Linked DNA regions of Homo sapiens: all the other regions are linked to region 3. The links are contacts of gene promoters, found by promoter capture Hi-C in human tissues and cell types (Jung and others, 2019). All regions are on one chromosome and are shown on one strand. The core of a region is centred on a gene start or on the middle of the fragment in contact, and the rest is flanking DNA. Distances in the headings are between cores, read along the strand shown. Region 1 has its middle 27 kb from the start of NAPG. Region 2 overlaps LOC105371988 (a long non-coding RNA gene). Region 3 holds the start of APCDD1 (APC down-regulated 1). Region 4 overlaps LOC105371989 (a long non-coding RNA gene).

Region 1 (7,295 bases), core at 1,908-4,407, 45 kb before region 3:
TTTATGAGTTCTGCATCACCCAAATACCAAAGCCAGGTGAACATGTTACAAGAAAAAGAAACTACATACAAATCCCTTACAAATACAGGTGGAAAAATCCTCAACAGAACTCTATCAAGCTGAATCCAGAAACATATTAAACAGATTACACATCATGATTAAGTGGGATTTATCCCAAAAATGCGAGGGTAGTTCAACATAACAAAGTCAATCAATACAACACACCACGTTAACTGAAGAAAGGAAAAAGAAAACAACCCATATAGTCATCTCAATTGATGCAGAAAAGGTATCAGACAAAATCCAGAGGTCTTTCATGATTTAAGAAAGAAAGCAGTCAGCAAAACAGGAATACAAGGAAACTTCCTCAAGATGGTGAAGGGCATTCATGAAAAGCCTCACAGCTAACATCATATTCAACTGAAAAACTGAATGCTTTTTCCCTATTATCAGGAACAATACAATAATTTCTACTTTGACACATATTCAACATTTTACTGAATGTTCTATTCAGAGCAATTAAGCAAGAAAAGAAATATAACACATCTACATTGTAAAGGAATAAATCAAACTATCACTATTCACAGATGACATAATCTTATATATAGACAATACTCAAGAATCCTCATAAAAATTATTAGAGCTCATGAATTCAGCAAATTGCAGGATAGAAGACACACAAAAGTCTAGTATATGTCTGTACACTAGCAATGAACAATCTGAAAGGACATTATGAAAACAATTCCATTTACAATAGCATTAAAAAGAATAAACTAGTTTGGAATAAACTTAACCAAGAAGGTGTAAGATTTGTATACTGAAAACTATAAAATATTGAAAGAAATTAAAGAAGACCTAAATAAATGGAATGTATCCTGCATTTACAAAGTGGAAGACTTAATATTGTTAAGATGACAATACTCCTCAAATTGATCTACAGATTCAATACAATGCCTTCAAAAATCCCAATAGTTTCTTTTTTTGTTGTAGAAAAAGAAAAGCCAATCGTGAAGTTCATAAGCAATTGCACAGGACCCCAAATACCCAAAACAATATTTAAGAACAAAGTTGGAGGACACATATTTCCCAATTTCAAAACTTACTACAAAGCTACAGTAATCAAAACAATGTGCTACTGGCATTAGGATATACCATAAAGGTGTAGGTTAGATCAGAAACATATGGATCATGGAATGTAATTAAGATTGCAGAAATAAACCCATACATTTATTATCACTTGATTTCAACAAGCATGCCAAGATCATTCAATGGGAAAAGAATAGTTTCTTCAATAAACAGTGCTGAGGTAACTAGATATCCACATATAAAAGGATGTTGGACCTTGATCTCACATTGTATACAAAAAATAACGTCAAAGTATCAAAGATCTAAATGTAAGGGCTAAAACTGTAACATTTTTAGAAGAAAAGATAGGGGTATATCTTCATAATCTTGGATTTGGCAGTGGTGTCTTGCCTATAATAACAAAAGTACATGCAACAAAAGAAAAAACAGAAAAATTGGGCTTCAAAATTAAAAAGTTTTGTGCATTAAACTGCACAATCAAGAAAGCGGGGCATGGTGGCAAGTCCCTGTGGTCTCAGCTACTTGGGAGGCTGAGGCAGGAGGCTGAGGTGGGAGGATTACTTGAGCCCAGGAGTCTCAGACTGGCCTGGGTAACACAGTAAGACTCCGTCTCCACAAAAAATTTTAAAAATTAGCTGAGCTTGGTGGCAACATACCTGTAGTCCCAGCTATGAGGAGACTGAGGCGGGAGGATCACTTGAGCCTGGGAGGTGCAGGCTGCAGTGAGCCATGATCACACCACTGCACTCCAGCCTGGGTGACAGAGTGAGACCCCAACTCTTAAAAAAAAAAGAAAGGGGAAAAGACAGCTCACAGAATAAGAAAAAATACTTGCACATCATATATCTGTTAAAGATCTAGGATACAAAATATATAGAGAACACTTACAACTCAACAACTAAAAAACAAACAACAATCCAACTCAAAAATAGGCAAAGAACTTGAATAGATATTTCTCCAAAGAAGATATACAAATTGCTAATAAGCACATAAAATGATGGTCAATATCACTAGTCATTAGGAAAGTGCAAATTAAAGACACGATGAGATACTATTTCACAACCACTAGGATGGCTATAATAATAATAATAAAAAAAAACTGAGACTAACAAATGTTGATAAGGATGCAGAGAAGCCAAAACCCTCATACGCTGCTGGTGAGAATGTCAAATGGTAAAGCTGTGGAAAACAGTTTGGTAGTTTCTCAGTTAGTTAAACATGCAACAACCCTATGACCTAGCAACTCCACTCCTAAGTATACACCCTGAAGAACTGAAAACAAGAGTCAAACAAAAACTGGTATATGAATGTTCATAGCAGCACTATTTGCAATAGCCAAAAGATGAAAACAACCTAGATGCTCATCAACTGATGAAGAGCTAAACGAAATGTGGTCATCCATACACTGGAATACTATTCAGCCATAAAAAGGAGTAAAAAGTCCTGATACATCTATAACATGGATGAACCTAGAAACATTATGCCAAGTGAAGAAGCCAGAGAGAAAAAGCAATGTAATGTCCGATTCCATTAAAATAAAATATCTGGAATAGGCAAATCATAGAGACCGAAAGCAGATTAGTGGTTGCCCAGGGCTGGAAAGTGGCAATGGGAGTGACTGCTTAAAGGGTACAGCATTCCTTTTGGAGTGATGACAACGTTCTGGAGCTAAATAGTGGCAAAGGTTGCATAAAGTTATAAATGTACACTGATTCTATACTTTAATATGGTTAAAATGCTGAATTTCATATGATTTTAACACAGTAAAAAGTTATTACTCAAATGGTTATTTATAAACATTGTCTTTGTCTACATCAACTATACGTTAAATTTTTCCGAAAGTGATTAACTTTCAGAAAAACAAATAACTCATTGCCTTAAATGATTATTATTTCTGTTACCTTATCATCACTATTCAATTGCAGCCTCTTGGGAGAGGAGTCAGTACTTATAAATCTCCATAGTTCTCACAGTGCCTCTTTCAATGTCACGTATGTAATAGTTCCTAAAGTAAAATGACTCGTGGTGAAGAGGAAGGCGTCAAAACCACAAGATGCACCATGAGAAGTTGCATAACGTCACCCTCTCAGAACTCCTACTTCTTAGGCATCTACCCTGTACCACGCACACTCACTTCTAATCTCTATATCAACTCTGTGGGTAGGTCCACCAGCATGCCACAGGGATAATAGTTGGTCTGCTAAGACAAAGAGTGAGTTGAATTGAGAATACCATAAACAAACAGTTTCAATATACGTTGAATATTTTATTTTAGTCAAAAACATGTAAACATACATTTATGCATCAGTCTTTTCATAACAGACCAGGAACATATCTTGGCCCATAGTTGCACCAACTTCCTGCATACATCTCACTTGTAATGCATGCAGGTAGCTTGTAATACTAATAACTTAGAGACATGTGTGAAATCATTAGAATTCAGATTCCTTCTATATTTTTACATCCCTCCACCTCAGTCAGTAACTAACAGTTGTCTTATTTATACCTTACTCAACAGCAATATTTTAAGTCACTTTGCATATCGTCTTTCCATCACATTCACCTTGGGTTTCACGGAGACAACAACTTTCTTTACAAAATAAATAAATCATTATTTTATTTATTTATTTTTTGTTTTCATCAAAAAATTAACTTTTAAAATTATTGTACAATTATAACAAAAAGAACAGCAAGCATACAGAAGCTTGGGAATTAAAACTTACTATGAAGGGGCATACAACTTAGCTTGTGGCAGTAGGAGTACCTGGGCGTGCTAGAGTCAAGTCCTGCCTCTCCATCTTTCTTTTGCACAGGAATCCCCTAGAGAGCTTAATGAAATGCAGATTCTGGTTCAGCAGGTCTGGAATGAACCTGAATTTGTGCAATTTTAACTAACTCCCAGTTGCTGCAATGCTGCTGGTCCAGGGTCTGCAGTGTGGGGAACAAGTCGCTGTATCAGGCCATGCACAGCAGCCAGCATACTTTTCTGCAGCAATGGGAGTGCCATTAACCCAGAAAGTTGGTCAATGCAAGTCCAGCTTCTCCTCTACTGGGTTAAGAATCCCAGTATATAAGTGAGGAAGCTAAGCACAGAGAAGCTGAATGACTTACAAAATGGGCAAGTGCACAGTATATGAGCAGGAATTCAAACACGGGCCTGTTTGGCTCCAAAGCCCATACTCTTTCCACTTCACATCTAAGAAAGCCAAAAGCAGAGCACCGAAGAGCCCAGGCATCCACAGAGGGACCTGGAGGAAGTGGATGGCAACCCTGCCCAACCCACTCAGAGAAAACAGCAAAGGGAGAAAGCAGGCCCCAGGGCAATAGCTTTGACTTGCTGGCCGTCTTTAATCATTATAAGAAAAAGACTTCATATTATCTTCTTCTGTTTATGTATTGTCACAAGAACTTTGGGCTTGCAGAATTCGTATTGCTTTTTAATTATTTTTATCACCACAATTTCCTCTGACATCCTGGTGTTTGTCAAGTGATTTGAAACTGAAGTTAACTTATTGGTGCTCTGTTATTTGGGAAAATGATCAGAAACAAAGCACAAGTGTTAAACTGGGCACAGTATGGTGATATTAGTGCCTCCATCATTCCCCAGGAGAAAGGTTGTTCGAGAAATAGAAAGTATTGCTATTTTTTTAAACTAGGCTGATCCTATGAATTCATATTCAGTGCTTCATTATACTGAAAACTGCACATGACTTCTTTGGATCTTTGGCTCAATAATCACTTTGATGTTTTATTTATTGATGCAAAAAGTACTTTCCTTTCAAGTTTGTTATCTCTCATTTCAATGGAATTTTTCAAAGTATTAAGAAACTAGCTCCACAGTACTGTCTATCCAGTTTTAAATTGGCACAAGATTCTAGTGTTACTAGTGCCCCTGGGTGTTTCCTGCCATTTAGTTTCAAGCTAATAAGGAAATGCAGAGGTTGGCTAGAATTTGCTATGAATACTGCAGATAGACATTTGTGCTGGAACACACTCAAAGAAGGTTGAGAGAATGCATTTTATCATACCAGGCACTTTGTTTTTTTGCCCATTGAAATGATTTGTATTTGGAAATCAGAGCTATTTTTTGTCTTTGGCCAAATCTTTCATGAAGTCTGAACTTCCATGTTTGTGAAATCCATCTGTGACATCATTGAGTGGTTTTCACAGTGAAAAAGTAATTGTCAAGGAAGACAATATAAAATGTAATATATTTTTGGGAAAAATGTTTATTCCAGTCTCTCACCCATTCTTTCAAATAAAGTTACTTGGGTTTTGTTTGTTTGTTCTGTTGTTGCTATTAAGTGTAGGAATTCTTCATATATCTTATTTATGAATCCCTTATCTGATGAATGGTTTGCAGATATTTTCCCATTCTGTAGGTTGCTTCTTCACTGTGCTCATTGTTTCCTTCACTGTGCAGAAGCTTTTTAGTTTGATGTGGTCCCATTTGTTTATTTTTGCTTTTGTTGCCTATGCTTTTAGTGTCATGTCCATGAAATCATAGTCAAGACCAGTGTCATGAAGTTTTCACCAATGTTTTCTTCTATGAGTTTTACAGTTTCAGGTTGTATGTTCAAGTCTAATTTACATTGAGTTCATTTTTGTATATTGTGTGAGATAAAAGTCCCAATTTATTCTTTTGTATGTTGATATCCAGTTTTCCCAAAACTATGTATTGGTGAAACTATCTTTTCCCTATGTGTACTCTTGGTAGCTCTGTAGAAAAGTGGTTGACTATATATATATGTGGTCTATTTCTGGTCTCTCTATTCGGTTCCATTGGTCTATATGTCTATGTCTTCATGTCAGTACTGTAGTGTTTTGATTACTGCAGCTTTGTAATATATTTTGAAATCAGAAAAAAAAATGATGCCTCTAGATTTGTTCTTCTTTTTCAATATGTTTTGGCTATTTGGGTTTTTTTCATATAAATTTTAGGTTTGCTTTTTTCTACTTGTGTAAAAACTGTGATTGGGATATTGATAGGGATTGAATTGAATCTGTAGATCACTTTGGGTAGTATGGACATTGTAACAATATTATGCCTTGCATTCCATGAGTAAGTAATGTCTTTCTATTTAGTTGTGTCTTTTTTCCTTCATTAATGTTTTGTAGTTTTCATTGTATAAGTCTTTCATCCTTAGTTAAGTTTATTCCTAGAATAAAAAGCCAACCTACAGAAGGGGAGAAAATATTTTCAAGCCATATATCTGATATGCAGATATATAAGAAATTCCTAAAACTCAATAGCAAAAAATCCTAATAACCCAATTAAAAAGTGGGTAAAATACTTGAATAAACATTTCTCTAAAGAAGACATGCAAATGGCCAACAAGAATATGAAAAGATGCCAACATTACTAATCATCAGGGAAATCCAAATCAAAACCACAATGAGATATTACCTCACATCTGCTAAAACGGCCATTATTTTAAAAAAAGATAGCAAGTGCTGGAAAAAATGTGAGGAAATTGGAGCTCCTGTGCAAGACTGGAAGAAACATAAAATGGTGCGGCCACTATAAAAAACAGTATGGAGGTCCCTCAAAAAATTAAAAATAGAACTATCATATTATCCAGAAATCCCACTACTGGGTATATATGCAGAAAAACTGAAATCAGATCTTGAAGAGATATTTGCACTCCCCCTTTCATTGCAGTATTCAATGTGTAAGATATGAAATCAACGGAATTGTCCATCAGTGGATGAATGGATAAAGAAAATGTGATCTACGCACACAATGCAATATTTTTCAGCCCTAAAAAAGAGAAAATCTTGTGTATGTGACAACATGGACGAACCTGGAGGACATTATGTTAGGTGAAATAAGCCAGTCACAGAAGTACAAATACTGTGTTTTTCACTTATATGAGGAATCCAAAATAGCCAAACTCATAGAAATAGTGAAATGGCGGCTTCCAGGGGCTGGGGTGGAGGTACTGTTCAAAGGGTATAAAGTTTTGTTACACAAGATGAGTAGGTTCGAGATCTGCTGTACAGCATGGTGCCTATAATTAACAACATTGTCTTGTGCACTTAAAAATCTATTAAAAGGGTAGATCTCATGTGAAGTGTTCTTACTACAATAAAAAAGATGTCTTTTTAAAAAACACACTAAATGTCTTGTCATTGAACTTTTCACATTGAAAATAAGAGTATTGATTAGTTCAAAGTCATAGTGACGCTATATATCATTTTTGGGAAGA
Region 2 (7,375 bases), core at 3,129-5,628, 34 kb after region 3:
TTTATTTTACCACACATGTTTATAAATGTAGATTTTTAGACAGAACAACCATTTCAGCATTTTAAGCCAGTGCTTGCTAGGTCTCTGCTTAGAAAGAATACTTTGCCCTCAAACCCATTTTCAACCCCAATTCCAAAAACAACAGAGATGAGAGAAATTTTGGATTTAATGATTCTTAAGTGCCTGAACTTGACATTGCAACATGCTTGAGAACATCGTAGCTCAGTGTCAGGAATTCTGCAAGAGGTCACAACTAAGGAAGGAAAAAATCAAAAGCAGCAGCATGAAGTGAGCTGAATATGAAAATCCTGCCAATCTATATTTGTCCAAAGACATAAAACTGAAACAAATCAGTAAATTTGCTTGGTAATGAAATGCATGCTGCTTCTAAAGCTTGCTGTCTTCTCTGGGACATTTATGAATTCTGAACTTGTATGTTCATTTGTGGGTTTACCACTCAAAAGCATGTCGCTTCTGGCCCGTGTGGCTCTTCCTGTGGTTCCACATGCATTTCCTAATCTGGCCATCCATGGAGATCAGAGAGAGGGCTTGAGTTTTCCTGCCTCCCTCCCTCCCTCCGGCACCCTCCGCCCCACTGCGTCATCTCTGAGCCTCTGCACTGAGAATGTTTTATCTAAAACTGAGCTTCAATTTGAAGTCTGCCTAAAATCTGACCTTCACATTCACCTCCTTCTGGAAGCAAAAGACGTAAATTCAGCATTTTTATTTCACTGCATATGGTAACTTTCTTATGCACTGCTTTTTAGAAGAGCAAAAATAAAACATTAGGGGCATGACTAGTGTCACCAACTTCTTCTCTCTCTCTCCTCCAGGAAATATTTATTAGAGATTGACTGTATGTTGGGCACTGAGCTGGCACAATAGGCATAATTTGAAGGAGGACACCAAGGAGGATTTAAAACAATATCAGGTGACCATCCTCCTCACCAGGGCAGGTTTTAGGGTTTGCGGGGCTGTGGGCAACTAATTTTTGTAAGGCTCCTGTCTACACAATTTGATTGTAAAATATGTTACAAAATTCATGGGTCCACGTGGGGTATAGTGATTTATCAATGGGGATTTGCGATAGTGGGTGGAGAAGAGGAACCGCTGTATTTTTCTATCATCCAGCCAGTGCACGTGATGTTTGTGGTGTCCAGGCATCATCTCTTCTTTTTCTTTATTGTCAAAGGCAGCATTCCTGGTCAAGGTCATATCTCTAGGAAGAAAAGGTAGCAAAGCTGTCATCACTCACTGCCATGGGTCTCAGGGACCTGTTTGTACTGAAACAATGTAGACCTGGGACCGTTCATGCACCACTGGTCACATCACCTGTGAGGCTGCAGTGTCACGACCAGGCATGGCTTCTGCTGACTCTCAAAGTGGTTTATGTGCTTTGCTGACATGGACCACCAATGCCAGGATTACCCAGATGATTCAGGAAAATGCAAATGAAGATTTATTTTCTGGTCATGTGGTATTTTGAGTTATGTAGCATGAATGTGGAATAACCCATCATCCACGGCGTCATCCCTTGACTTCTTTTTTTTTTTTTGAGATGGAGTCTCCCTCTGTCGCCCAGGCTGGAGTGCAATGGCGCGATCTCGGCTCACTGCAACCTCCACCTCCTGGGTTCAAGTGATTTTCCTGCCTCGGCCTCCTGAGTAGCTGGGATTACAGGTGTGCGCCACCATGCCCAGCTAATTTTTATTTTTAGTAGAGACAGTGTTTCACCATGTTGGTCAGGCTGGTCTCGAACTCCTAACCTCGTGATCCACCCACCTCAGCCTCCCAAAGTGCTTACAGGCATTGGGCCCTGGGATTACAGGCATGAGCCACTGCACCCAGCCATCCCTTAACTTCTTTAGGCTGACATCATGGCATGCCTATAATGAATGGGGTCTCTTTCCCCATGGACAACATCTGCCTTCCACGCCGCACCAGCAGGAGGCCAGGTGAGAGGGCTGCAGCAGAACAAGGACAGGGAGCCCATCCATACAAGATGGGCTGTCCTTGCTAGTGATGGCTTCAGAATGACCCAACAGAGCAGTGTGGCCACATTGATGGGAAGTTTCATCAGGAGAAATGGATTTGACCACCTCCAAAACATAGCAAGACACATGTGCAGAGTCTGTGGAGGGCGGCTGGTCAGTGGGTGCTGTGCACCATGAGGGACACATGTTGGCACCTACAGCACCATCCGGTGCTATGAGCTAGAGGGCGTCACAGCCAGAACACAGAGGGGAGGAGCCCATGTGTGGAATTGCACACAGGCTGAGACTCAAGGACCATGGTCACCTTAACCAGGCTGTCAGCACCACTCTGATGGCCAGATCCCAAACGATCTCCGGTGGCAGTGAGTGGGAGTGACGGCCATGCTGGGCTGCCCCCTGGAGCCAGAGCCCACCCACGACCCACATGACTCCACAGGCACAGGTCCCTCAGCTGCTCTGGGCACCTGCAAGGAGTGGGTCAGTGCATGGGGCCAAAGCACAGGCCCCTTCAAGTGGGGAGCCCTGCAGGGGACCCTTGCTGGGCCAAAGGGCCTTGCTGCCCCTCACTTCCCAATATGTCAGGAGAAAAGATTGGGTGAGGCCCCGGGGTCATTAGAGGGATGTGTTGAGGGAAGCTGGCCAGGGACTGTGAGACGGAAGCCCAGCACCTAGACACTGAGGGCTGCCTGCACTGGGAGCCTCAAGCCACATGGGAAGCCAGACTGCAGGCTCTGGAAGCTGGTGGGACCAAACTCTCAAGATGCTCCCTAACCTGCACATACACTTGACGGCAGAGAAGGGGTGTTGTTAATTCCCCATGTTTCGGTGTAAGGATGAGAACGAAATGTAACTACCTTTATGCTTATCATTCTGAGGAAGACACAATATGTGGATTAATTCAAGGAACAGTTTTTAAAAGCAAAGTAACTTTTAGGTAATAAAATTGACTTGTTTTGAAAGATTCTTTTCCAAAACCATAAGGAAAATAAGCCAACAATAGGAGGTTACAAAGGTTGGTATTCAGGCAACCTAATTCAATTGCTAGATCTTGCCTCTGTGGATGAAGGAAAGGCTGTGAGTGTAGACCAGAAAGCCTGGGCCAAGTCCTGAATCACTCACTGGGTGATCTTGAAAAAAGTCACCTACATTGTTTGATTTCGGTTTCCCCACCTTAAAATAAGAATAATATTAACACATCTCACAATGAGCTGTTTTTAAGATCCAATGAGATAATGTACAAAAAGTGCAGTGTAAAATGCCAAATGCCAGATGGATATTAGTTCATTCTTACTTAACCACAAAGAAGGTTTCCTCCTTGGCTCTCAGATGCCTCAGCGCAGCTGCAGAGTTCTTGGGCATTCTGCCACTGCCTTCTTTCTGGCCACATCCCCCCAACCACTCACGATGGGGTCCCTGAGGATGTCCACGTGCAAATCCCTGACACTCGTGATGAGGTTAGGCTACATGACAGAAGGGAACTAAGGTTGCAGATGGAATTAAAGTTGCTAGTCCACTGACTTTAATTAGGGGGACGATCCAGGATTTTCAGATGGGCCCAAGGTAATGACAAGAGTGGAGGAAGGGGACAGAAAAGTCAGACAGAGAAGGGGGGATGTGACAGCAGGAACAAGGGCAGAGTGAGCCACGTGAAAGGACTCCATTCACCATCTGTCGCTGGCTTTGAAGATGGAGGAAGGAGCCACCAGCCAAGGAATGTGGCAGCCTCTCGAAGTGGGAAAAGAGCAAGGATACCGATTCTCTCCCAGAGCCTCCAGGAAAGGACACAGCCTGTTGACACCTTGATTGTAGCTCAGTGAGACCCATTTTTTGGACTTCTGATCTCCAGACCTGTAAGATAATAAATTTGTATTGTTTTAAATCACGAAATTGGTGGTGGCCATTCTGATAGCCTGGGAATTGGTGGTAATCTGTGAGAGCTGCAATAGACAACAAATAGTGCAATATCTGCTATCAAACTAGCTATAGCAAACAGATGGCTTATTACAGTGGCAATAGGTGAGAAATACAGCACCTCATTTCCCAAGCACCCTGCAGGCTTTCCCAATCCTGTGGGATTGGGACTGAAACTAACTCTGCAAAGATTATGACAGTTAGATAAATCCAACATAGTTGACTCCATCTGTGACAGTAAGATAAATTCGATGTAGTTGACTCCATCATGCTTCTAACCTCCAAGCTATTGTTAGTCACTCCTGGGTGTAGGCCAAGCTAACTTTGGGAGGAATTTAGTTTAGAGTTTAAGCTTCAAGAAATGATGATAATACCCCTTCTCAACACCAAACTGCCTTTGTAAAACTAACGAAAGGCCACAAGCTTAGGATTATGACAGGGACCTAAATTCTGCTAAGAGGTAGGCGTAAACAATAACCAGCTATTGTTGAGGAGGTCACAAGGTTTGTGACTTCTCCAATTACTCCTGTAGATAACATCACTATCGTAGATACTATGATTGGCCTTTTGAGATGTTTTTTGAGACTTTTGCATTTCTGATGATTGGCTGACTCCACCTGGACCAACAACTCATGACTCAACTGTTCCTGTGGCTCCTACCAGAGATTGACTCAGCCCACAAGGACTGTTTTCCACACCCCTATGATTTCATCCCCAACCAATCAACATTCCCCATTCCCTGCCTTGCCAAACTTTCCTTGAAAAACCCTAACCTCCAAGCCTTCAGAGAGACTGGATTTGAGTGAAAACTAGGCCTTCCACATGCCTAGCCTGGCAGCAATTAACTTTCTTCACTGCAATACCGTAGTCTCAGTGAACTGGTTTTGTCTGTGCAGCAGGCAAGAAGAACCCATTAGGCAATTATGCAGCTCTCGACTTCTAACCCTTTTTAGACCATGAGAATCCTACTTACCCTTTAATCCCTGGTCGGATGTCTCCTCCTTCACAAAGCCCTCCCCAGCTTCCCTTTGGCTAGGTACAATGACACCTTCCTATAACTTTCTGCAGTGCTTGGCTCATTTCAGTATATTTCTGTTTCAGATTACAGTTTAATATTTGCAAGTGTGTCTTCTCTGACAGACCGTAAGCTGTATAAGTTAAGGGATGGCCTTTTAGTTATTTCTGTACCCCTCACAGTGCCTAATTCAGAGCTTTGAACTGAGAAACAAAACTGAAATCCTAAGCCCTCCAACAAACTGAATAGACCCCCACTTGGCCAAGAGGACCCCAGAGAACCCCTAAAAACTGAGTTCTGGCCATGATAGGATGGGAACTCAGACATGTTTCACTATCCCCCCTCGTTTGCTGGCCCCATTAGCTTTTCTTCACTGGGGGCTGAACAGAAACCAGCCCTTTGGAAAGACTACTCCACACCTGATATCAACCAACTGCATGACAGTGCCCATCCCTTTTGCAGTTTCAAAACAACTGACCAGCATTCCTTCCTGATAAGACTACCACTGACCACAGTGTGGTTTTGGCCAGTCTACAGAGGATCCACAGAGAGGGTTTTTTTTTTTCTTTTCCTTTGCTTCACCTTTTGACATCAGAGGGCTAAAGTCTCCACCCTCATGTCATGCTAATGCCACTGTTTTTGGACCTGGGTCCCCATGGAAAGGCATGAAGCTCAGTTGTGCGTGTGCATGTTTCTCCTCCCATAAATATCCACAACTCCTCCTAGAGATTGTTAAATATGTATACTTGGCCACACCATTCCGTATACATTCTTGCACCCTTTGCCCCTCCCTCTGAGTATCTGTTTCTGGCTTCTGGCTAGAGGCTACGATTCCCAGCCTATCAGACTGGCCACCAGCACACTGCCCTTTATGAGAAATGAAGTTCTCCTTTCCAGATGTATGAGCCTAATCATTCTTCAGTTGACAAAATCTTGCAACCTCTGTGTGCCGAAGTAACATAAAGTAAATTAAAAGGATATTTTTCACAACAAGCTACTATCTTAATCAAGGTCCTCCAGAGAAACAGAGCCAATGGTGTCTATAAAATGAGGAATTGGCTCCTATGACTATGGAGGCTGAGAAGTCCCATAATCTGTTGTATATAAGCAGGAGGCCGAGGAAACCCAGTGGTAATTCAACAGGAGCCAAAGGCTGGAGACCCAGGAGAGCTGATGGTGTAAATAACAGTTGAGGGCTGGAAAGATGAGACATTTCAGCTCCAGAAGTGAGGCAAGAAGGAAAAGGGACAGGTTCTTCCTTCCTCTGCCTTCAGGCTGTCAAGGGATTGAATGAGGCCCACACACATTGGGGAGGGCCATCTGCTTCAGATGCTAATCCCCTGGAAACACCCTTACAGAAGTCACAGTTAATCTGGGTACCCCACACTGCAGTCCAGGTGACACAAAACACAGTTACCCAGAGGGGCCTCAGCAAGGCAGACAGGCTTGTGACCCAGGAAGAGGTTAGGAGGCTTCTCTTCTCCAGCCCTGATCCTGCCTTCTTTGCCATCAAGGACCTTTCTGGGGCACCCAGGGTCTCTTTTTGCCACATCATTTACTGTCTTTCAGCCTTCTTTTCCCAACCTCCCAGACTGCTTCCTCACTATCATTTTTTTCCAGAATATATTGTTCATGGCCATTATTATTATCTTAGAGTGAAATTAAATCATATGTTACCTCTCTCATTGTGTTTACATTTCAGACTTTATGTGTACTTCTGGAATGAAAAGCTCTTCACTCGTTAAAAGCATTTAGGACTTTCATTGCACATTACAAAAAAGCACTGGGTTGGGACTTAGAAAACCTACAAAAGGTGGACACTATGTAGAACACTTTTAGGATTTCTTCCATCCTGAGATTCTGCAATTTTTTTTTTTTTTTTTTGAGACAGAGTCTCGCTCTGTCTTCCAGGCTGGAATGCAGTGGCCCGATCTTGGCTCACTGCAAGCTCTGCCTCCCAGGTTCACGCCATTCTCCTGCCTCAGCCTCCCGAGTAGCTGGGACTACAGGCACCCGCCACCACGCCCAGTTAATTTTTTATGTTTTTAGTAGAGACGGGGTTTCACCGTGTTAGCCAGGATGGTCTCGATTTCCCGACCTCGTGATCCGCCTGCCTCGGCCTCCCAAAGTGCTAGGATTACAGGCGTGAGCCACCACACCTGGCCAAGATTCTGCAAATTTTAAAACCTGTGGAAAAAGAGTTTGAAAGAATAAGTCAGGGTAAATTTGCCAGGGATAATAGAGCTGCAGTTTTTCCATAAACTCTGTTTTCCCTGTAACTGTGTAAAAAAAAAGGTAATCTTACAGGGACATGTGATATGGTCCTGTAGTCAGTGCCAGGCACAGGAGCAACCTCTGTCAAGTAGTGTAGAGGGAAAATAGCAATGGGATATGGGGCATAGCTGGTCTGGGGCTAAGCACATTTTGTTCAGGCCAGGCCTAACCTAGAAAAATG
Region 3 (6,951 bases), core at 553-3,052:
CTCTTTTGTTTCTTGTGTGTGTGGCAGCTGCTGTTTGATCTGTTCATTGGCTCTGATTTGTTTCATGTTTCAGCCAAAGATTAAAACTGCTCTGTAATTCTAAGCAGATGGGCCTAGGAGTCCAACCCTATAATTATACCTTCTCTCTTTTTGCCCTCTGCAAGCCTTCCATCCCGACTGTTAAAATTCTGGGATCACTGGGGCTCTGAGTACACCTTGGCAACTGGACAGGTCTGGCCCAGCCAGACAAGTTCACAAAGCCTGTGGAGCTATGCGAGCCATCCACCTGGGGCAGGACTACAAAGAAAACAGCATCCCGGTGGCTTGTGGGTTAACAATTCTTCCCTTTCCTTGATCCTCCGGAGGGAAGGTCCTCAGCCTGACTTTCAGTCCTGGCTACCATGCATTCTGAAGCCGGAGCCCGCTACAGGTTTGGGGTGGCTGTGGTGGGTGTTGAGGAAGGAGAGCCGTGAAGTCATGCTGTTGAAACGTCAGGTGTCTGACCATTAGGGACAGTTTGCTCAGGACATCCACATCAACACGACGTGATCTGCCACGGCTTGTCAGGATTATGAACCCGACGCGCCATAAAACCTGCCTTGTCCACCCCAAAGAAATTCTGTCTTGGTGTTTTCAGCGCAATTTCTGGAACCCGCTGAAAGGGCTGATGTTCTCTAGCTAAAGGTTTACTAGAACCCCTGGGGAAAAGTGGCACTGGAAGCCCAGGAAATGGGACGTCAAGTTGGGGTGCACATTGGGAGACTGGTAATAATGATTAAATCTTGGCTAATAGGGGTCCCCTGTTTCTTAAAATTACACCCAGAGAACGCAACAGTCCACTTGGGAGAAAACCCCACAACCCCGCCTCAATCGCGAGGCAAAGTGCAGGCAGACAACAAACACTAGTTTTCAGAAGGCAGACAGACGTGTCTTTCCCAAATGATCAGTTTCTCTTTCCACTCTCCTAAACGCTTGGAACACATCAAGAGCCTGCTGCATTCTGGCATTTTGGAAAAAGGCTCGCAGAGCCGGCGATTTCATGGCAGTGTACAGTTGGAAAATCCAGCAGAGCGGACGAAAGTTTCCCTCGGACTGGATGCAACGGATTCTGGACATAAAAGGTGTCTGCGTGGGAGAGCTTCCACCCTTCCAAAAAGAACAGTCCCGCAGCAAAGAGCTCCGGGCGCCCTGGGGGAGAGCGGTCCCAAGCCTCGGAAAGTGGGCAGAGCCCCCTCTCCCAGGGCTGAGACGGCAGGCGCGGGGCTCCCCTCGGACCCGCCCCGCCAAGGGGACAGTGTAGGCCGTGCCGCGATCCAGACCCGACGCCTCCGCGGGCTCCGCGGCGCCCGGGCTGCCTCCGCCGGCTGGGAGCGCTCGAGTGGCCCTCGGGAACTCACCGTGAAGCAGGAGGGCCGGGAACAGGTATCTGAGCAGGAGGCGGCGCGGCCAGGACATTTCCAGTCCTGCTCTGGGGCCTCCCGCACGCCGCGCTCCGATTTGGTGCCCGGGCAACTGGGCGCGCGCTCTGCCCTCCGCCTCCGGCCGGGTGCGGCCGGGCCAGGCCGGGGCTTCAGGCGGCTGCCGCGCGCCCCATGCCCGGCGGGCTAGGCGCGGGGCTGCGGGGCGCGCGCTCTCTGGGCGCCGTCGGGCGGCTGTGGGCGCCCCGGCCCGGTCCGCGTCCCGGCCTCTCTGCCGCCCGCCCCGACTTCTCCGCGCCCGGCCCCGCGTCCCGCCCCGGCCGCCGCGTGCGCCGCTCTGAGCTGCAGTGGCCGCCACCGCCACCGCAGCTGCAGCGTCTCTTCATATTTCCAGCGCGCCGCCGGCCGGGCAGCCTGGCCGCGGCACGGAGGAGGGGCCCTGGAGGGGGCGGTCGGGGGAGGCGACGCCGAGCCACCGCCCCCGGGCAGCCGCCGCCGGGGGGGAGCGCGGAGACTTGAAAGGGCGCGTCGGGCAACGCCTCCCCTCCTCCCACTCCGGGCGCCCCTCCTCCCCCCGCTCCCCTCCCGCTTCCCTCCTTCCCCTCTCTCGCCTACCCCTCCTCTTCCAGCTTCCTACCCCTTCCATCCTCCCCTCCTCCTCTCCTCCCTCCAGGCCCCTCTGCCTCCCTCTGGCTCTGCGCACCCCTTTCTCTCCTCCCCGTCCCCCATTCCGGGCGCGCTTCCTCCTTGGAGGGGGTGGGAGCCTTTGGCCCCGCACCCCGCCCGCAAGGAAAGAGAATGCGCGGGTCACCCTTCCGCCTCCGCCCACTCCCCTGGGGAAAGGTGTTCAAAGGGGGTGCGGGCGGCGAGGCTGGAGGCCTGGCGTGGGATCCAAGCAAAGCGGCCTGCTGAGCCGGGGTGTGTGCCAGCGCGCAGCCATGGGAGAGAGGGGAGACCAAAGAGAGAGTCCTGGAGGGTTGCTGGGGGTGAGGATGCGTCAGTGCTGGGCCCCCTCGTGGGTGCGGTGCAGGTCTTCACTACAAATCGCCTACCCCGGCCCAGTGCCTGGCTCCTCTGGGGAGCACGGAGAACCTTGTCATAGGCCCCAACCTGGGAAGGGCACGGTGTAGGAGGCAGGAGCCCGTTCACTTTTTCCTCCCCCTTCCACTAGGCAAATGACTTGTTGAAACGGGAGAAATCTCCGAGAAACGCTCCCTGTCAGTCTAAGAACGTGCACTTAGGCCCCTTCGCCGAGTCCTCTTCTCTTCCAGAGCAAATTGAATCACCACAATCAAAGCTGATTTTATTTGTGTTCGCGGTCTTGTGGGGGAGGGGGGACTACATGGGCGTTTGAGACCCAAAGGCAGGAAGAGTTTCCCCTGGGGTCCTTCGTTCTCCAATGCGGGTACAAGGCAGTGGCCATCTGATTTACCTGGAAGGTCCCTCCTCTGCCAAGGGCCTGCTTGAGCCCTTCCCCTCTTCCAGCAGTTTTCCCCCTCCTAAGGTTAATGTCACCTCTTCTCCACACTAGGATAAAGAGCAGACAGGAGACCCAGTGGAGTCTAGAGAACATTTCTTGACGCAACCGTTAGTGTTTTTCATTTAAAAAAAAGATTAAAATAAATGCCTGATTTCCCAAGAGAATTCTCTGCCCCTTTGAACAATGCAATAATTCAACTCCTTATGTGTTAGACTTTCAAAAGTAGTTGGATCTTAGCAACGGTATAATAGTAAAATAGATGAGAATACATTTGACAGTTTCCACTTTTCTTTTTTTTTTTTTAACCTGAGAAATCCATGGGTGTTTTGATGTGATAGTGCTGACGCTGTTTGATGTGTCTTAATTTTTATCACCATCATTATCATCTTTCCATCATTAATACAGAGGATCATAAGATGTACCAGCTGCTCAGCTCACACGGATGTTGTGAAGATTAATGTGCTCCTGTTTGCAAATCTTGAAGATGAAAGAATACCTGTGTGGGCAAAAAGAAGATCATGAAAACGATGCCTATGAGCGCAGGCATTATTTTGTGTTAGTCTTGCTCTGCCACATCTTTCTGAGCCTGACTTTGTACCTGATCGTTCTCTCATCCCAGTTGCTAGGCTTGGGTAGCAGACTATGATTTGTAAGATTTGAATGTTTGCCAAGGGCCAATCAAATTTTCATTTTAAACCAAGAATTTGACTTCTTCACGAATGTTGGGCAGTTGGAAACGATGTAAACAGCATACTTGGTTGGTTATGCAGAACAAAAGCCTTGTCACCAAGAACACATATGAAGTGGTGTTTAGTTTTTCAATGTCTTTTAGTCATTTGATGCCTTTTAGTCCATCAAAGAATATTTGAAACAAGCAAATGGCTAAGAGAGTGTTAGGGGTGGTGCATTTTTGTATAAGCAAATAGGTTGACAGCAATGGAAAAATGTTTAGGTTATTCATCACATATTAGAAGAACAGTTAGGTCATGTATGTGCTTAATTTTTTGATTTTGTTATTAAAAAAAGGATAAAACCAACAGGTCAGCTGTAATTTGGTGTCATTTTGACAGTCAAGTTGCTTCAATTTTTGTTTTTCCAACTGGTTTTACTGGTGTGGTATAAACGTAGCCAGAATGAAGTCAGCAGTTTCAAATTTGTTTTGCCAGTTTATTTTCCCCATGTAGTGTCATAGATTTAAATACTCGACCCTCAACATAACATCCTGCCAGAGTTACTACTGCCTGAAAATGTCCCCGCAACGTCCAACAGTCGAGAAGATCTAGATTTGTCCGAGGATAAGTTCATTTTCTGCATTACTTTTCACTTCTGCTGTTAATGTACCTCTTTCTGGAGAAGAATAATGAAAGGAAAAGGAAGACATGTAAATTTGTCTTAGAGAGGTTATTTGTGGATATATGTTTAGAGTAATAGAACTGGGAAGCAAGCATTGCTAGGGAGGTAATAAGTGGCTGTTAAATCCAGCACAGAATCGGGACCCCTGAAATAAGCACAGGGAATTCCCCAAACCACTTACGAGAACCCAAGCCTCAAGCAGGAACATGTGGAGCCCAGGTCCTGGTGATAATGGGAGTGTCTTTGGCAGGGACAGCTGGACAGGATCCCCTTAAGAGCATCAACAAGTGTGTTAGAATATCTGGAGCTGTTCATAAATAACCCTGGCCATGCTGATGGAGAAGAGGAAACTCAAAGGAGCTAAGTTCCCAGCCACACAACACATCGCCTCTTGGAACGCCTGTGATTTGTTCAGTTACCAACTCACGAGGCCTGTCACGTGTCTACCAAGCGGTTTTTTTTCCACAAACGCAGTTGCCCTATGAGCTTCTATAATCGCCTGTCTTTGAGTCAGAACCAGTCCTTTGCTTTTCCCTAGGAACGCTCAATCATGAGTAAATTTCCTGGGATGTAGAGCTTGGGTGATCGCCTTAGCTTGATTTTCTTAGGAGGGTGTCTTGATTTTTAGTGAGTACAGAGTAGTAGAACGCTCTATTTCATTGTTGTCCTGGGAGGCACAAGGACCAATGCCCCTTAAAACCTGGGCTACAGTTTGGTTTTCTAACGCAGTCATTGTGAAAATTGGTATAAAGTTGGGCCATCATGCAAGTCATTTAGTCATTTGGAATTTCTGAGATTCTAGGCCTTTTGGTTCTAAGAAGGGCCAGGGTATTTAAAACATGGATTCTAGAACACAGTCAACTATGAGTATGGTCGAAAGCATTTGACTACCCTCTGAGTCCTCAGAGCCTACAAAATGTCACCAGGAATAGACTTTTCTTGAAACTTGTCAGATATCAGTTCCAAGCTTGTGAGGTTACATTAAATTCCCACAGACTGGAAGCATCCAAAGGCCAGGAGTGGTTGAGTCATCACCATTCCCCTTTTAGCACCTAAGCCAGTATTTCCAGTCTTTTGCCCACAGCAGGACTTTGAGAAATGGTAGATATAAAATTTCAAAAATCCTACACAGCTCCCTCAGAGGCAAAGACAACGAAATTATCCTGAGGGGCCCTTAGAAGGGGGCATATTTTGGAGTTATATTTTTTAAACACGTTAACTAGAACAAGCTCTATTTTGAAAATAAAATGCAGTTTAGATATATCCCTGAGCAACACAGCCTCTGAGGTTAAGAAATTAAATGTTACATTCCATTTTATACTCCTGGCGTTTATCAGAGAAAACAAATAAAATGTTTGTGAGCTTAGCAAGCATTCATTCATGTTTTGACCAACTGGTGAGTATCAGATACATATGTACAACCACCTGAAATTAGGAACAGGTATGTATGAAGGGGATTTGGCTTAATTGTTCATTTACCCTCTGTCACGAGTCTGTTTGGGGGACTGATGAGAAGACTATGGACCTTCCCACTGGAAGAAAATATGAGATGACCTCAGGGACAGGAGACACTCAAGGACCTCAATAGCATTTTTGTCTGTACCTTCATGTGACTTAGAGACGATTCTTCCTTTTAGTGCTGATTGCCTTCTATGTCTAACTGCTTTATCTGCGCAACTAAATTATTTGGCCCTTTGAAGGCAGGAAGAAAATCGGGTATTATGTGTGTGTCTCCTCCCCCAGCCCCTTCACAAGTCCTTCCATAATGGGCATTTGTTGGACTCGTAAATGAGGCAGGATAAGATCAGAGCATCAAAAAATAGTCTTTATGAGCCACCACCACCCTAAGCCACTTCGGCACCCAACTACAGAAACAGGAAGATACAAAAACTCTGGTATTCACTCCGAGCATACCCGAGGTTGTTATGGCACACATAGCAACACTCAAACAAATACAACAAATAAGAGGCAGCCTGGCACAATTGCTAAGGAGCCAGATTCTCTGGGCACAATCTCTCAGCTCTATGACCCTGGGCAAGTTACTTAATCTGGCTGTGCCCCAGTTTCCCCATCTATAACATGGGGATAATAGCAGCATATACCTGCACATAGTTAAGTGTTACATAAGTGCACCCTAAATAATAATTCACTGACAATAATGAGCTTAGACTAGACCATACATTCTCACCAATAGCAAAATTGCCCCCAAGGGAGCAAAAATTGGTTCTTAGAGGGGGAGGTGAAAAAACTTAGATATTACAATGATTTATAGCCCTCCAAAAAGGCAGTACTTAAACAGATGTAAAGTGTATCCATGGTACTTACAATCTAATGGGATGAGTAAAAAAAAAATGTTTAAAAAGCTTCCTTCAGGGGCAATAATAAAAAGGAAGTTCGAGAAACATTGTACAAGATGAAAAATTATAAGATTAGTCGTATTACAATTAGTCATGTATCAAACATTTTAATAACTTTGTTCCTTTAATTCACTATGTTTTGATTATATGAAACCAAATATGTTTTACTTCAACTGACCATCTGGGGTGGCAATCTACCATCTGATTACATCATTGTAACATTACATTCAGTGTTATCTTTCATTGAGATAATTCAGCTATTACTAGTCTCTCTTTGCAGATGGGAAAACTGAGGCCAAAGAGTGGTTTGCCTAAAAGTCACAACTTTAAAGGGGCAGAGTCA
Region 4 (7,295 bases), core at 766-3,265, 55 kb after region 3:
GAATATTGCCTGCACTGTCCATAGCTAGCATCACAATAAATCTTAGAGATTTCCTCATCGGTCCATACGGAAGCCTTGTTCTTTTTGTAGTTGCATTGTGTGACTGCACTATGATATATTCAATCAATCCCTACAAATGGATATGGGTCGTTTACATTCTTTTGCAGTTACAATGAGGTCTCATTAGATCATTTTGAACATATATTATTTCCCATGTGTACTGCTATATGTAGGATATATTCTTAGAAGTGGAATTTCTGGGTCAAAGGATAGGGTGTATTTATAATTTACTAGGTATTTCGAGATAGTCATCCTCAGTGGTTTTACACATTTACAAACCTTCCAATTCTACACGAAAATGCCCTTTTTCTGACAGCCTGACCATAGTTGTTTCATCCAACTTCTCTTCTTTCCGCCAAACTGCTGGATTAGAAACTGTATCTTGCTGGAATTTTTACTTAGCATTTTTCTTATTATGAGTGAGACTGTGCACTTCCTCTTATGTTGAAGATGCACTTTTATTTCCTTGTTTCTGTCATCTCCACTTTTGAACTCATAAGTAGATGACAGATAATGTGCTGCTAAGGAGAAGTGGGCTGTTCTGAGGCCACACCCTAGCCCTGTCCGAGTTTGATGTGAGAAGGACGTGCATCACTGTGCCAGCACCAGCACTTAGTACACAGCTGTGGACCCTGAGGGAGCATGAGTTTCAGCCACAGAAGACAGAAACGACCTTCTCGGCCGAAGGAGCAGCTCAGCACAGATGCAGAGCTCTGCATGGCTTATTTGGAAATGGAACATGTCTGTATGACAGGACCCCAGGTCCTGTGACTGGAACATGGCACTAGGCAGTTAGGATGGAGTCAGCTAATAGAGGGTCTTGAGTGCTGCGGTACAGAGTTTGGGCTTTGCTCTGCAGGTTGTGGATGACGATGCGAGTTACCGAGTAGAAAATTAATACCTCAATTGCCCCAACTGCTAGTGCTGTGTGCACTGCTGTGTGCCCTGGACATAACATTTAAATTCATATTCACAAGCAGTACATATTAAAGAGTCAGTCACTAAAAATAACATTAGTTGCTAGGGATCCTGGAGAGACAGACACTAATAGTTGATGGTATTGTGGTCCAAAGTCTGGTGTCTGAGTCGTCCCGCCAGGCGCCAGCTTCGGTCCTAGGTCACAGATCCTGCTTCACTCCCCAACATAAGCTGAAAGATGCTGCTTGCTAGAATTGAGACTGGAGAGAAGGGAGATAGGATCTGCCGTCATCCCCAAGCCGGGTCCTGTTAGAGGGCAGAGAGGGTGACTCTAGGGCCCACTTCTTCCCAAAATGGATTCACAAGATTAGTAGAAAAAGGAAAGAAGAGAAAATGAGAGAGAAATTAGGCAAACTGAAGCCTAGAAAAATGACGGGTTTTCAAATCTCAAGATTTTCATTTCCTGGTCATTCTTCCTTGAGGTAGTAAGGTCCAAAATTCATCAATATTTCCTATTTTCATAGATATTTACAGCATGTCACCAAGAAAAGAAATGGGTGTCTCTTAATAGACAGTCATGCCTCACGTAACCATGGGGATACGTTTTGAGAAATGCATTATTAGGTGATTTTTGTCATTGTGCAAACATCACAGCATGTACTTACATAAACCTAGATGGTAGAGCCGACACACCCAGGCTATATTATACGGCCTATTGCTCCTAGGCTACAAACCTGTGCAGCATGTGACTGTATTGGATACTATAAGCAGTTCTAACACAATGGTAAGTATTTGTGTATCTAAACGTAGAACAGGTACAGTAAAAATATGGCAATATAATCTTATGGGACCACTGTCATATATGTGGTCAGTTATTGACCAAAAACATCATTATACAGGGTATGATTGTATTTTAAACCTACATATAACTTGCTTTTGAATTAAATAATTTTAAAAATATTTCTATGTTACATGATTCTTGAATAGCCCAAGTCGATAAAAGTATTCTGATTTCATTCTATGAACAGGAAGCGGGGGAGGATAGGCAGTCCTTTAATATTTTTGAACCCACGTATTTGTCTGTTGTGCCTCTGACAAAAGGGGGGAAAATCCTATGGTCTCTGTTTCAGGGGATTTCATGTAGAAGTATTTTATAAGCTTGACCTTTTTCATGTAAAATACCAGCTTTGTGACATTTAAATCTACTAGTGAAAATGAACAGGTTTCATTTACTAAGGGTCTAAGATCATAGAAGTCAATTTTATTGTTGAAGTTTATAAAAAGAAATCATAAGAAGAAATGTGCCAGCAGAGACACACAAGACCATTTGAACAACCACCCACATTTGAACAACCTGATGTGTGTGGACAGGTGTGTGTGTGTGTGTGTGTGTGTGTCCGTGTCAAGACCCACATTGCAGAGAGCTGCTGCTCAGTGACTTCTCTGTCCCAGGGTTTTCCTTTACTTAGCATTCTTTATTACCCTTTCTCGCCCTAAGGAGACAGATGGGCTCCACACTTGTGCTTTGCCAGAGATCATTACATCAATTCTCAGCAATTCTCAGAGCTCCAAGTCCTGTGCCTTTCACAGCTGATGGTGAGGACTCCCTGGGTGGATGAGTTTGTGAGAAGTTGGCCTTCAATATTAAAATAATGAATAGGCTTTAATGTGATTCTTAAGAGCCATTCAACCAGGAAATGTTGGCTTAGATGCAAGAAGCAGTTTTCAGTGAGTTCTCATTTACATATGACTTTCCAACTGCATTTTCTTAGGAACACGGAAATCCAGCGGCTTGCCCAATCATTTAATTTAAACAATTGAATGAAAAACTTTTTCCCCTTGTTAATGTTAGGTACTCTGTACCAGGCAAACAAATACCACTCTTCCTGTGCCTTATAAATTTCTTCAAGGCCATAACCTCAAGTTATCAGAAGAAAAGGAAATCAATGAAATCAGGGACAGGACTGGGCCATCGTAGTGTATTCCTTAAAGCTTAGCAATCATAGTCAATATCGTAACCTAAACATGTGTTACTTATAGAATGCAGACTGAAAACATGTCACTCCATCCTCATGTAACCCCAAAACTATTGATAATGCTCTTTTTTCAGATGCCAATACAATCTTGCTGAGTTTCTCAGAATTCCATAGTAGCCACTAGTTCCTGTTGTAGGAAACACACCACCCCTATTGTAGTGTGTGTTACACATAGTACCAAAGTTTAAGCCAGACAGGAACACTGTCCCTGCATTTTTCTTGCATACGTTTAATTCCCATTCAAGCACAGTACACTTTTGTACATGTACACTGTTTTATTAATGTCCAGAGCAATAAAAGTGCAAAGTTATGCCCATTTTCAGATGAGAATCTACTAAGGTCATCGTTCCCATGGAGCCTTGCACCTGCTTTCCCCTGGCAGTGAATGCATCGGTGCTGTCTGCTTTCATTCCAAAGATCTTTCTCCTTTATTTGATTTTTTAAAGCAAAAGCATATGCAAACACCCAGATACAATAAAATACAGAAAAAGTTAACATGTAGTCATTTTTTTGTTCTGAGTTTTATTAAAATGGAATATGTAGAAGACAAAGCTGCATCCATCTTTGACACCCAAGTGCAAACTTGCTCACCTCCTTACAGAACCAGTGTCATGAATTTGGTGAGTGTCCTTCTAGTTAATTTTTTTACGTTGTATGTTATGTATCCATAAACTATACGTAGGACCACTCTCTGTGTTTTTAGATTATATAAAAATAGTGTCATCCAGGAAAAACCACTTCATTTCTTAAAACTCAATATTATATTTTCAAAATTGATTTATTTTCATTCATATAATCAGCACATAGCTGAATTTTAAAATTTAACCTCTATTTTTTTTAACGTGAGCTAAATTATTTTATAGTTAATTTGACTACTGGATATATTTGTACTTATTTCTGCAATTGTATATCTGTTTTTCATTTATCAGGCTTTTATTTGAAACAACTTCTTACTTTTATTTATTACATTTGTATGAAGTTAAAGTTCTTGAAAGGTGTCTTCCTGAGCTTGTTTTCATTTCATCCTCGAAGCGACCATTCTAGTCCCATTTTTGTCATTATCCTGAGAACCTAACTCATGTGTGATCCTGGGCAAGTTTCCCCTTCCCCGCCTCTCTTTCCTCATCCAGTTGGCCTCGCTCTATGGCCAGGGGTTTTAATTCCACATGCCAGTCATCTTTAATAATAACACTAACCACAGCAGTAATGACACATCCATTTACTGAAAGACTGCTATATTTTAGACAGCATTCCTGAAAAATAAGAGGCTGTGGATAAACACTAATTTCTAAACCAACTGCAAAATATACCCAAAAGTCAGATTTTTTTTTTTTTTTTTTTTTTTTTGAGAAGGAGTTTCGCTCTGTCGCCCAGGCTGCAGTGCAGTGGTTCAATCGCCGCTCACTGCAAGCTCCGCCTCCAGGGTTCATTCCATTCTCCTGCCTCAGCCTCCCGAGTAGCTGGGACTGCAGGTGCCCACCACCACGCCCAACTAATTTTTGTATTTTTAGTAGAGATGGGCTTTCACCTTGTTAGCCAGGATGGTCTCAATCTCCTGACCAGGTGATCCGCCTGCCTCACCCTCCCAAAGTGCTGGGATTACAGGCGTGAGCCACTGCACCTGGCCAAAAGTCAGATATTCTTTATTGCCCTGTTAGCTGGACTAATACTTTGTTATGACCAGCATCTTGATTGAGATTTCTCATTCTTTTTTTCCAAGTTTAGATGGGAAGTGAAAAAAAAATATCCAACCATACTGAGAATCTCTGGTCTATGAGGTTGGGAATATCCTTGAAACTGTCATCCCTCAGACAGGATAGAGGTGTTACAATAAAGATGTCTTGCTCTTGATTCATGCTCATTCTGTTACTGTGGTGAGTTCTTGAATTGATCACTTTCAGATTCTTATCAATGGCAAGGTTCAGCTGTGGATATGATACTCTGAGCTGATAACTCATTAAATGTCCAAACAAACCCCCAAATGAACATCAAATCATAGTCATTCTTTCCATCTTTGTTTGCTTAGGATCCAAAACATTCTGGTAAAACCAACCTACCGCTTGTTAAGCTTTGATAAAAACAAAGAGAAAAAATTTTTCTAAATTCAAGCAAAGAAATGTTTGAGCAGGTTCATTTGATATAATAATATTTCTTGAACGTGTGGAACTTGAAAGAATTAGAAATGCACGAGCTTGAAATAGTAACTAGTTCTCAGTTTTTGAAGATTTTCCCAGAACTACCGGTGAATTGTTCTCTTCTAACATAAACATTTAGTGCCATAAATTTCCTCCTCAGCATTGCTCCAGCTGTGTCCCACAAATTTTCTTATGTTGTATTTTCATTTTCTTTCAGCTCAACATATTATTTGAATTTTTTTCCTTGATACTTCCTCTTTAACCCATAGATTATTTAGAAATGTGTTATTTAGTCTCTAAGTGCTTGAAGGTATGTCTGTTATTTTTTCTGTCATTTATTTCTAGTTTGATTCCATTGTGGTCAGAGAAGACAGTCTGTATTATTTCAGTTCTATTGTATTTGTTAAGATTTATTTTATGGCCCAGTATATGATCTATCTTGCTGTCTTGGTTCATTTTGTGTTGCTATAACAAAATATGGCAGACTGGGTAATATATAATAAACAGAAATGTATTGGCTAACAGTTCTGGATGCTGGAAAGTTCAAGATTGAGGGGCTGGCATGTGGTAAGAGCCTTCTTGCTGCATCTTAACACGGGAGAAATCATCACATGGCAGAAGGGCAAGGAAACAGTGAGAGAGAGAGACAAAAAGGGGCCAAACTAACCCTTTTATAAAAAACCCACTCCCATGATAATAGCATTAATCCAATCACGATAATGGTGCCCTCATAACCCAAGTAACTCCCATTAGGCCCCACCCCCAACACTACTGCATTGGAGATTAAGTTTATCACACATGGACTTTGGGGAACACATTCCAATCACAGCGCATAGTAAATGCTTTGTGAGCATTTGAAAAGAATGTATATTCTACTGTTACTGAGTGAAGTGTTCTATAAACTACTGAGTTGTTCTACATATTTTCTGATTTTCTGTCTAGATGTTCTAGCAGTTGATGAGAGAGAGGTGTTGAAGCCTCCGACTACAATAATAGATTTACCTATTTCTTTTTTTGGTTCTATCAGTTTTTGCTTCACATATTGATACAGAAGGGGGCAGAGAAGTGCTGAGAAGGGAAGGGCATGCTCCCAGGTGAGGGCTCCACCCCCAAGCCTGTGCCCATGGACCTAGGTGAGGACAGGCATTTCCGTTTTCCTGCCTAAATGTTGCATTTCCCAAGACCACTCTGGCCTGCCATGCCCTCATCCTGTGCCTATAAAGACCCTAAGACCCTAGCAGGACGGGACACAAACAGCTGGCGTTGAGAGGAACATATTTGCAGAAGAACACACAAGTGGCTGGACATCAAGAAGACGTCCAAAGGAGCACGCTGGCAGAAGAGCACACAGACAGACACTGGCAGGCCATTGACTGGCAGAACAACATGGAGTTTGGCGGGGTGGTTGGAGGAGAGCCGGCCTGACTCCAGCCAAAAACCACCTTCCCACTCCATCTCCCTTCTGTCTCCCCCATCTGCTGAGAGCTACTTCCACTCAATAAAACCTTGCATTCATTCTCCAGTCCCACGTGTCCTCTGATTCTTTTGGTACACCAAGGCAAGAAACCCTGGGATACAGAAAGCCATCTGTCCTTGTGATAAGGCAGAGGGTCTAATTGAGCTGACTAACACAAGCTGCCTACAGATGGCTAAACTAAAAGAGCACCCTGTAACACACGCCTACTGGGGCTTCAGGAACTGTAAACATTCACCCCTAGGCACTGCTGTGGGGTCAGAACCCCACAGCCTGCCCATCTGCATGCTCCCCTTAGGGGTTTGAGCAGCAGGGCACGGAAGAAGTGAGCCACACCCCCATCACACACCCTGCAAGGGGGACAAGGGAACTTTTCTCATTTCAGTATGTTGCAGCTCTGTTGCTTGATGCATAAATGTTTAGGATTGCTATGTTTTCTTGGTGGATCGACCTTCTGTCATTATATAATGTCCTTTTCTGTACCTGGTGATTTTCTATACTCTGAAGCATACTTTCTCTGATTTATAAAAAGAATTCCTGAAAAGAATTTCTGTTTTCTTTTAATTAATGTTTCCATGGTACATCTTTTTTCAAACTTTCATTTTTAACCTACTTATATTGCTATTAATAAAAGAGAGTTCAGACAGTAGATAGTTGGGACATAGTTTAAAT

Evidence for each region. Contacts are between HindIII fragments. The study calls those that stand out against the background at their distance.
Region 1: a contact is called between a fragment that was not itself captured here and the fragment with the promoter of APCDD1 in region 3, in 4 of the 25 tissues and cell types used here (aorta, dorsolateral prefrontal cortex, hippocampus and 1 more).
Region 2: a fragment that was not itself captured here is called in contact with the fragment with the promoter of APCDD1 in region 3 in 2 of the 25 tissues and cell types used here (bladder and mesenchymal stem cells).
Region 4: a fragment that was not itself captured here is called in contact with the fragment with the promoter of APCDD1 in region 3 in 2 of the 25 tissues and cell types used here (dorsolateral prefrontal cortex and lymphoblastoid cells).

Annotation. Positions count from the first base shown.
Region 1 is chr18:10,495,307-10,502,601 of GRCh38, reverse strand. No RefSeq gene overlaps it. Among named protein-coding and RNA genes, the nearest start is that of NAPG, 27 kb to the left of the region's middle. The HindIII fragment of the contact is 8,195 bases long and covers 1-7,254 here.
Region 2 is chr18:10,417,964-10,425,338 of GRCh38, reverse strand. It overlaps LOC105371988 (a long non-coding RNA gene), which reads right to left. Exons shown (of 3, transcript XR_935142.4): 2 at 3,660-3,842; 3 at 84-1,219. Among named protein-coding and RNA genes, the nearest start is that of LINC01254, 7.3 kb to the right of the region's middle. The HindIII fragment of the contact is 4,106 bases long and covers 2,326-6,431 here.
Region 3 is chr18:10,449,486-10,456,436 of GRCh38, reverse strand. APCDD1 (APC down-regulated 1) reads right to left here and starts at 1,802. Exons shown (of 5, transcript NM_153000.5): 1 at 1,398-1,802. The coding sequence starts at 1,455. The HindIII fragment of the contact is 8,431 bases long and covers 1-5,916 here.
Region 4 is chr18:10,394,059-10,401,353 of GRCh38, reverse strand. It overlaps LOC105371989 (a long non-coding RNA gene), which reads right to left. Exons shown (of 3, transcript XR_001753348.1): 3 at 209-1,284. Among named protein-coding and RNA genes, the nearest start is that of LINC01254, 17 kb to the left of the region's middle. The HindIII fragment of the contact is 4,022 bases long and covers 5-4,026 here.